Linked DNA regions of Homo sapiens: all the other regions are linked to region 3. The links are contacts of gene promoters, found by promoter capture Hi-C in blood cells and fetal thymus (Javierre and others, 2016). All regions are on one chromosome and are shown on one strand. The core of a region is centred on a gene start or on the middle of the fragment in contact, and the rest is flanking DNA. Distances in the headings are between cores, read along the strand shown. Region 1 overlaps BCL2L13 (BCL2 like 13). Region 2 overlaps BCL2L13 (BCL2 like 13). Region 3 holds the start of TMEM121B (transmembrane protein 121B).

Region 1 (3,388 bases), core at 361-2,860, 560 kb before region 3:
TTTGGGAGGCCGAGGCAGAAGGATTGTTTAAGTTTAGGAGTTCAAGAACAGCCTGCGCAACATAGCTAGACCTTGTTTCTACGAAAAATAAAAAAAACTAGCTGAGCACAGTGGCATGTTCCCATCGTCCAAGATACTCGGGAGCCTGATGTGTGAAGATCACTTGAGCCTGGGAGGTCGAGGCTGCTGTGAGCCATGACTGCACCACTGCACTTCAGCACTTCTATATATTTTATGTTTCTAGACAGGGTCTCACCCTGTTGCCCAGGCTGGAGTGCAGTGGCACTATCATGGCTCACAAGAGCCTCAACCTCTTAGGCTCAAGCGATCTTCCCACCTCAGCCTCTCAAGTAGCTGGCACTACAGGTACACACCACCATGCCCAGCTAATTTTTGTGGGGTTTTTTTGTTTTTTTTTTGAGACAGAGTCTCGCTCTGTCGCCAGATCATGCAATGGCGCGATCTCGCCTCACTGCAACCTCTGCCTCCTGGGTTCAAGTGATTCTCCTGCCTCAGCCTCCTGAGTAGCTAGAACTACAGGTGCACACCACCACACCCAGCTAATTTTTGTATTTTTGGTAGAGACAGGGTTTCACCATGTTGGCCAGGATGGTCTCGATCTCCTGACCTCATGATCCACCTGCCTCAGACTCCCAAAGTGCTGGGATTACAGGTGTGAGCCACCGCGCCCAGCTGTGTGGGGTTTTTCTTTTTTTTGGTAGAGACAAAGTTTTGCCTTGTTGGCCAGGCTGGTCTCAAATTCCTGGGCTCAAGCAGGCCGCCCACCTTGGCCTCCCTCACGCTGGGATTACAGGCATGAGCCACCAGGCTCTGCCTATGTTTTCATTTTTTGCAACCAAATTAAAGAATCCCAAATTCTCAGATGGGCTTTGAATTAATTAATTCTATTAAGGTCAAGAAACTTGATTATTCTATCATCCACAGGTATTTAAAATACCTTTAAAAAACAAAAGGTTAAACATTTTTACGTATCACAGATTCTGATTCATTTTCTACTTTTAAAGCTGACAAAAATAACATGGCTTTAAGCGACATAAAACACTTTCCTTATGAGATGAGACTAACCAAAATAAAATTCAAATCCTTTTATTTTTTTATTTTTTTATTTTTTGAGAATAGGGTCTCACTATATTGCCTAGGCAGGTCTCAAACTCCTGGGCTCAAGCCATCCTCCTGCCTCTGCCTCCCTAAGTGCCAGAATCCTTAAAAGTTGAAATGTAACACAAAGGATCTCCTCAATGTCACCAATAGCATATACTTTGCTTAATGACATTTCACTTACTTCTGCCTAAGTAAATAACTTTGATAAACTACATTCATAAAAACTTGAAAATGTTACATAAAACAATCTATTATGCAAAAATTTGAGGCCAATTTATCCTAGAAAGATCCTATGCCAATTTATCCTAATCTTTATAAATTCTCATAAAGCATAAAAGTCTACCTTTACAGATAAGCTTCTACTAAATCTCCATTACTGTTTATAATTATAACAGGTTTTCCCTTTAGAAGTAATTTGTAGTGTTAGATGGCTCTGCAACAGCACTGATTAATATAACTGCACAAGATACAGTGATCTCCAGAATACATCATGACATTATTAAGTGAAATCAAACACAAGCTCAGAAATTAATTCACGGCCCATGCTATTTCTTGCAATAAAATTCTCTCTTTCCCTTCCAGCTTCCTGGAAAACAGCCGTAAAGTGGTTGATAAGCTTTGGAGTCAGGCCTTCTAACTCTTCACTTGGGCAAGGAAAATAATCTTCTTGACCCTCTCCTCTTTATGATTATTTTTTTAATTGAGACAGAGTCTCGCTCTGTCACCCAGGCTGGAGTGCAGTGGTGCAGTCTCGGCTCACTGCAACCTCCACCTCCTGGGTTCAAGCAATTCTCCCACCTCAGCCTCCCAAGTAGCTGGGAGTACAGGCGTGTGCCACCACACCTGCCTATTTTTTTTTGTTTTTAGTAGAGATAGGGTTCTGCCATGTTGGCCAGGCTGGTCTCGAACTCCTGACCTGAAGTGATCCGCCTGCCTCAGCCTCCCGAAGTGCTGGGATTACAGGCGTGAGCCACCGTCTCTCCTCTTATATAAAATGGGAAAATAATACCCACCACAAAGGGTAGTTGTGAAGAGTAATGAGATAAATGCCCAATCGACAGGTGCTCCCACTCACCAATTCTTTTCATGCTCTAAAATTGTATTATTAGATAATTATCTTTCCTGGCCCCTTATCTCTGTGAACAGAAATTAGCTCATCACAGATTTTTAATCAAAGATGCTTATACAGAACCTGCTTTCCACACTGTGAAAGGTAGGAATAGCAGGACAACCTCTGTCAGTTTAGATAATGCCATGTAATATAAAATAAGGCTGTTTTAACACAAACTAGGAGAAATCTTGACAGGCAGTTATTCTTGCTCTTCAATTGCTGCTAGAGAGAATGGCTTAATATGTGTTGCTTAAATTTGTTGGACATTGCACAACAAATTGATTGGGGAAGTTTTACTAAAAAGCTGTATTCCTGAATACCAGATGTTCTGCAACCTGTTTCCAAGGGTGGCTTGCCTCTAATGGACTTGCCTTCAATTTTTTTCCAGGCTAAGGTAATCTCTGTCATACTCAACAATGTAAGAATTTTGATCAATCACTGTCATAAGCTACAGTGAATGAACGTGCTTTTAAGAGAAATCAATCCTTCTTGTAGCTACTAACACTCCTTCAAACATACTTCAATGACAGAAACAGAAATAACAACCAGGCTGAAAAAAGTTAGCCCTCTATTCCACAAAAACATTTCTAACTTAATATCTATCATTCTACTCTTGACCTCCCCTTAATCAGAAACTCAGAACACCTACACGTTTTAGACTTCTTGCAGATAATATAACCTATTGGATCCATTTTTCTACAAGGTTTGAATTGTAGACCTCATGATTTGCCCACCCTGGTCTCCCAAAGTGCTGGGATTACAGGAGTGAGCCACCGCGTCTGGCCGATATTGACAACATTTTCTACTGCATTTCTGTGTCCTATGTTATAAAGCTCTTAGTGGGAAAAAAGAAATCTTTTAAAAAACTATTTTCCAACCAAAAGGAACTAGTATAGCTTCTAAATTATAGGGGTAAAAGATTCCTGGAACTAAATATACCCTCTGTTTTATAGTATATATATGTGTGTGTGTGTGTGTATACATATGTATGTATGTATGTATTTGGCTTTCCCAAGAACCAAATTCACAGCTCAGCACTAGTATAATTGTAGAGGATCTCACAGACTACTTACCTATCTATGATCTGTTATTCCTACTATAGACATGTACAATTTTCCTACTCCTGATTTTTTTATTTACTATTTGGATTTTTCC
Region 2 (3,324 bases), core at 432-2,931, 600 kb before region 3:
CCCAGGCTGGAGTACAGTGGCACGATCTCGGCTCACTGTAAGCTCCACCTCCCGGGTTCATGCCATTCTCCTGCCTCAGCCTCCCCCCGAGTAGCTGGGACTACAGGCGCCCGCCACCATGCCTGGCTAATTTTTTGTATTTTTAGTAGAGACAGGGTTTCTACTATGTTAGCCAGGATGGTCTCGATCTCCTGACCTCGTGATCCACCCGCCTCGGCCTCCTAAAGTTCTGGGAATACAGGCGTGAGCCACCGCGCCCGGCCTGTTATTATCAATTTTTAAAAACTTTTTATTCTTTTAGTATTGAGATTCATATTCATAAAATTCACATAACATAAAAATTCATAGCCAGGCACAGTGGCTCACACCTATAATCCCAACATTTTGGAAGGCAAAGGAGAGAGGATCACTTCAGCCCAGGAATTTGAAACCAACCTGGGCAACACAGTGAGATCCCGCCTCTAAAAAAAAAAAAAAAATTAAGGCCGGGCACGGTGGCTCACGCCTGTAATCCCAGCACTTTGGGAGGCGGAGGCAGGCTGATCGCCTGAGGTCAGGAGTTCGAGACCAGCCTGATCAACATGGAGAAACCCCATCTCTACTACATGTAAAAATACAAAAAAATTAGCCAGGCATGGTGGCACATGCCTGTAATCCCAGCTACTTGGAAGGCTGAGGCAGGAGAATCACTTGAACCTGGGAGGTGGAGGTTGTGGTGAGCCGAGATCGCGCCAGTGCACTCCGGCCTGGACAACAAGAGTGAAACTCCATCTCAAAAAAAGAAAAATTAAAAAATTTAAAAAATTAGCTGGTCTTGGTGATGTACACCTGTAGTCCCAGCTACTCAGCTACTCAGGAGGCTGAGGTGGGAGAATCACTTGAGCCTGGGAGGTCAAGGCTACAGTGAGCCATGATCGTGCCACTGCACTGCAGCCTGAATGACAGAACGAGACCCTGTCTCTAACGAAAGAAAGAAAGAAAGAAAGAAAGAAAATGAAACCCACCATTTCTAGGTGTACCATTCAGTGGTTTTTAGTATATTCATAGTGTTGTGCAACCACATTACAATTGCCAGAAAATTTCCATCATCCCAAAAAGACACCCTTTGGTAGTCACTCTCCATTCTCCCCCTTTTCATCCCCTGGCAATCACTAATCTACGTTCTATCTCTACGGATTGCCTATTCTGAGAAGTAGAAATGGAGTCATGCAATATAGCCTTCTGTATCTGGCTGCTTCCACTTAGCATAATGTTTTCAAGGCCCACCCATGTTGTAGCATGTATCCATACTTCATTCTTTTTTTTTTTTTTTTTTTTTTTGAGATGGAGTCTCACTCTTTCGCCAGGCTGGAGTGCAGTGGCGTGATCTCGGCTCACTGCAACCTCCGCCTCCCGGATTCCAGCGATTATCCTGCCTCAGCCTCCTGAGTAGCTGGGATTACAGGCGCCCACCACCACGCCCAGCTAATTTTTGTATTTTTAGTAGAGATGGGGTTTCACCAAGTTGGCCAGGATGGTCTCGATCTCTTGACCTCATGATCCACCTGCCTCGGCCGTACTTCATTCTTCTTTATGGCTGAGAATAATATTTCATTGTAGGTAGGCACGACATTTTACTTATTAATTAGCTGGTGAACATTTGGGTTGATTCTACTCTTTAGAATAGTGTTGTTATAAATGTCCATGTACTAGTTTTTGTTTGAATGTTTTTATTATTTTGAATACAGCAGGAGTAAAACTGCCAGATCATATGGTAATTTTACGTCAAATTATTCTCCAAAAAATTTAGAAAAATATTTCCAAATATTTTTGGAATTCCAAAACATTTCTGAAAATAATGATGTTGAACATCTTTTCATGTGCTAATTGGCCATTTGTACATTTTCTTTAGAATGACGTGTAATTCAAATCTTTTGCCCATTTTTAAATAGAGTTGTGTTTTTATGTTGGATTGTGAGAATTTTTTATTCTTTTTTTTTTTTTTTTTTTTTTTTGAGACAGAGCCTTGCTTTGTCTCCCAGGCTGGAGTGTAGTGGTGCCATCTCGCCTCACTGCAACCTTGGCCTCCTGGGTTCAGGCAATTCTTCTGCCTCAGCCTCCCAAGTAGCTGGGATTACAGGCATGCACCACTGTGCCTGGCTGTTGTATTTTTGTAGATACGGGGTTTCACCATGTTGCCCAGGCTAGTCTTGAACTCCTGATCTCAAGTAATCCACCCACCTCAGCCTCCCAAAGTGCTGGGATTACAGGCATGAGCCACCACACCTGACCGCGTTTTTAATTCTTAAATAAGACTGCTACAAAATTAGATACTGATATAATTGCAAGGTGCTTGTAATTGGGTTGAGACTAAAGGAAACAGGGAGATAAACAAGGTGTCCTAAAAACTAGGTCTATGAGAGGAACTAGTAGTCTATGCTAATTAATAATTTTTAAAAATCTTCAAAAAGATCTCTGCCATTAGTGCCATTCCTCATATGGATTCCTTTCCCAGACTTCAAACCCCACATGGCTAAAACAGACTGTCACTGCTATAATCTTACGGGATTTCATCTCTTTCAAACTCTCATTACATTTTCATTAGTATAGGCATAATGTAAAACCATTACACATTTCTGGGACCATCATCAATAATGAATGCTAACAAAGAGTACCTCACAACCAAATGCAGTACATAAAGTCTATATATCCATCAACTGCAGAACTCACGCAATACAGCCAGCCAGAAGAGAATGCTTGTCGTACTGAAGACTATAAACTACAAGTACTAACTCTACATCACTTCTGTCTTACCCCATACCTAATATTTTGGCTAGCATCTATCTCATCATTTTCCCCTCCTTTTATTTAATCATTAAGTACTAAATATATCTCAATGTATTTATTCCTAAATATATCTTCTAATATCTAAATACATCTCTTCCCTTCCATCAACATTTTCTGGTATTACTCTAATGTAAGCAATCTTCTTTTCCCTCCCTCCCTCCCTGTATTACTCTAATATAAGCAATCTTCCCCTTCCCTCCCCTCCTGTTCTTTTCTTTTCTCTTCTCTTCTTTTCGAGCCAGGGTCTCTCTCTGTTGCCCAGGCTAGAGTGCTGTGGCGAGAACACAGCTCACTGCAACCTCTGCCCCCAGGGCTCAAGCAACCCTCCTACTTCAGCCTTCAGAGTAGCTAGGACCACAGGCATGCACCATCATGACTGGCTAATTTTTACATTTTTTGTAGAGACAGTGTTTTGCCATGTTGCCCAGGCTGGTCTCAAATTCCTGATCTTAAGCAATCTGCCTGCTTTGGCCTACCAAAGTGTTAGGATTACAAGTG
Region 3 (3,091 bases), core at 445-2,944:
TGTACTTTTAGTGGAGATGGGGTTTCTCCATGTTGGTCAGGCTGGTCTCAAACTCCCGACCTCAGGTGATCCGCCCGCCTCGGCCTCCCAAAGTGCTGGGATTACAGGCGTGAGCCACCGCGCCCGGCTGGGGTGGGGTCCTGTTTACAGATCAACATTCTGAGGTGAAATATTCAGGCTAAGACCACAAAGGTGTTAAGTGGCACAGGTGGGATGGCGGCCCCAGAGCTCCTGCCCTCACCACCATGCCAGCTTTCCAAAAGTGGTGTGTGTGGGGGAGGTGGAGATGGTGCAGGTTCTAAATTGTATATTTACCAGGGATTGGCTGTGCAGACTGACCTCCACGGAACTGGAAAAGGCAGGTTTGGCTGAAACGGACTCTTATTTAAGAGGCAGATTTAGGGGCGAGGCCTGACTAACCCCTGCGGCTCCACTGCATACAGCTCCCTCACACTGCATGGTGTTATCACGCTGCAAGCTGTTACCTAGGGGAGATGAGCCCGCAGCAGCAGCTTCAAAGGTCATGAAATCAGGGAGCCCACAGGCCCCACAAGGGTGCAGAGGCCAATAGGGCAGGCAAGCTTTCTGCCTTGTTTTCATGGGGCTGGGAATGGGATGTTTCCATTATTGGTGAACCTCAGATTGTTTTTGAGCCCCAACTGCTCTAGTCATTTCCTTCTCCCTTAAACCCCTAAAGGCAGCACTCTACCTTCTGCCTTCCAGAGTTGCTGCATCGACATCCATCCCCAGCCTTGGATGAGTCCTGGGGTGAGCTGGTGTGCTCTCTCCTGAGACTGTCTACGCAGGGCCACTGACTGCATTCCTTCCTTGGTGTCTCTGTCTACTGTGGTGGGCTGTAACCCTCACCATCATCCCTTTGGAGCCTTTGTTTTCATCCAGGTGCCCACACCTCTAAATGCCCCTTTATTTTACTCTCTGCTAGACACATCTTCCTATTACGTCCCATTCTGCTTTAAAAACCTTTGAGAAGCCCGCTGGGCGGATGCCACTTGCCCAATCTCGTTCCCTCGTCTCTCCTCCCAGGCAGGTGTTTTCAGGGAACTTCTCCATCCGCTGGAATCGGGTCGTCCCTGAGATGGCTCGCGACCCCAGGGCTGGGTACATGGATATTTAGGACTATAGGTCTGGGGCTGCTGCCCGAGCCCTTTTTGCCAACATGGCCTGACTCCTCCACTGGTTTTTAGTGCCTTAGGGAGAGGCGGATGGCCCCATGGGAAGGGCGCTGGACGGAGGGTGGAGGCGAAGCTGCCCACTGCCTGCCTCAGAGCTGAGAAGGCCAGGTGCAAAGCCCGCCCTGTAGCTTGAGCCCATCGCTTGGGGGCACCGAAGCCATCTAGGTACTAACGCCCTGCGGTACAGCCGGTGGGATTCCCAGCGACTTCCTTAGGAGTCCGCGCTCCATGGGAGTCCCCCCGCACCGGGTCGCCTCGCCCTGGCGGCTGCCCGCGCCTCCTCCCGCTTCCTCCAGGCCACAGGGCTCCCGACCCGACTGTGACGCACTGCACCCCCGCCCCTTCTCTTCCCGTTGATCCAGCGCGCCGCGCTTTCTCCTCCTCTGGTCTCGCTGCTTCCTCTCCCCCTCGAATCCAGTCCTGGTTTCCCCGCCGCCAGCCTCCCTCCCTCCCGGCGGGACTCGCTCCCCGCCCCGCCCCGCCCCGCCCCCGCCTCGCCTGTCTTCACCGCGGTCCGCTCGGTTCACCGCCTGCCCCCTCTCCCTGCCGCCCGGCCCGGCTCGCCCAGTCCAGTGGCTCCAGTCCGGATCTCGCCGCCGCCCGGCCCAGGTGCGAGTCCCCACTGCTGGGGAGGCGGCGGGCCCCGGCTCCCCTCGGCCGCCTAGCCCGCCTCGCCCGCCCGGGGTTGGCGGGGAGGGAACAGCTGGGCGGCCCCAGAGCCCCTCGGAGGACAATGCGCCCGGCGCTCGGCCACCCTCGCTCGGTCTCCTCCGCGTCCGGTTCCTTCCCGCCGCCCCCGGCAGCCGCCCGGCTGCAGCCCCTCTTCCTCCGCGGGGGCTCCTTCCGCGGCCGGAGAGGCTCCGGCGACAGCAGCACCAGCACCAGCACCAGCCGCGGGGGAGGCGGCGGCAGACGCGGCGGGGGCGGCGGCTCCCCGAGCAGCAGCACGGGCGCCGAGCGCGAGGACGACGACGAGAGCCTCAGCGTCAGCAAGCCGCTGGTGCCCAACGCCGCGCTCCTGGGGCCGCCGGCTCAGGTGGGCGCCCCCGCCGGCCCCGCGCCTGTCGCCTTCTCCTCCTCAGCGGCCACCTCCTCCTCCACCTCCACGCCCACCTCCTCCTGCAGCATGACAGCCGCGGACTTCGGCGGGGGCGCCGCGGCCGGGGCCGTCGGGGGCCCCGGGAGCCGCTCGGCGGGGGGCGCGGGCGGCACCGGGACCGGCAGCGGCGCCTCCTGCTGCCCGTGTTGCTGCTGCTGCGGCTGCCCAGACCGCCCCGGCCGCAGAGGTCGGCGCCGCGGCTGCGCCCCCAGTCCCAGGTGCCGCTGGGGCTACCAGGCGCTGTCCGTGGTGCTGCTGCTGGCGCAGGGCGGCCTGCTGGACCTGTACCTCATCGCCGTCACCGACCTGTACTGGTGCTCCTGGATCGCCACTGACCTGGTGGTGGTGGTGGGCTGGGCCATCTTCTTCGCCAAGAACAGCCGGGGCCGTCGGGGCGGCGCAGCCAGCGGCGCGCACAACCACCACCTGCACCACCACCACGCCGCGCCGCCCCTGCATCTGCCCGCCCCCTCGGCCGCTACCGCTGGGGCCAAGGCACGCGGAGCCCGCGGGGGCGCCGGCGGCGCGGGGGGCGGCCTGGGGGCGGCCGCGGCAGCGGGCGAGTTCGCCTTCGCCTACCTGGCCTGGCTTATCTACTCCATCGCCTTCACTCCCAAGGTGGTGCTGATCCTGGGCACGTCCATCCTAGACCTCATCGAGCTACGCGCGCCCTTCGGCACCACGGGCTTCCGTCTCACCATGGCGCTGTCGGTGCCCCTGCTCTACAGCTTGGTGCGGGCCATCAGCGAGGCGGGCGCGCCCCCGGGATCGGCAGGACCCCTGCTGCTGCAGCCCCAGC

What was found. The method cuts DNA at HindIII sites, captures the fragments that hold promoters and counts their contacts. A CHiCAGO score of 5 or more calls a contact.
Region 1: a contact is called between a fragment that was not itself captured here and the fragment with the promoter of TMEM121B in region 3, in 1 of 17 cell types (monocytes). The highest score is 5.0, in monocytes.
Region 2: a fragment that was not itself captured here is called in contact with the fragment with the promoter of TMEM121B in region 3 in 1 of 17 cell types (neutrophils); the score reaches 5.4 in neutrophils.

What each region holds. Positions count from the first base shown.
Region 1 is chr22:17,674,899-17,678,286 of GRCh38, reverse strand. The region is part of intron 2 of BCL2L13 (BCL2 like 13); the gene reads right to left. Among named protein-coding and RNA genes, the nearest start is that of BCL2L13, 38 kb to the right of the region's middle. The HindIII fragment of the contact is 260 bases long and covers 1,481-1,740 here.
Region 2 is chr22:17,717,824-17,721,147 of GRCh38, reverse strand. All of the region lies in intron 6 of BCL2L13 (BCL2 like 13), which reads right to left. Among named protein-coding and RNA genes, the nearest start is that of MIR3198-1, 45 kb to the left of the region's middle. The HindIII fragment of the contact is 3,886 bases long and covers 1-3,324 here.
Region 3 is chr22:17,119,963-17,123,053 of GRCh38, reverse strand. TMEM121B (transmembrane protein 121B) reads left to right here and starts at 1,694. Exons shown (of 1, transcript NM_031890.4): 1 at 1,694-3,091. The coding sequence starts at 1,927. It overlaps LINC01664 (long intergenic non-protein coding RNA 1664), which reads right to left and starts at 1,459. Exons shown (of 4, transcript NR_103793.1): 1 at 1,015-1,459. RefSeq lists an enhancer at 736-1,267 and a silencer at 1,853-1,982. The HindIII fragment of the contact is 5,742 bases long and covers 584-3,091 here.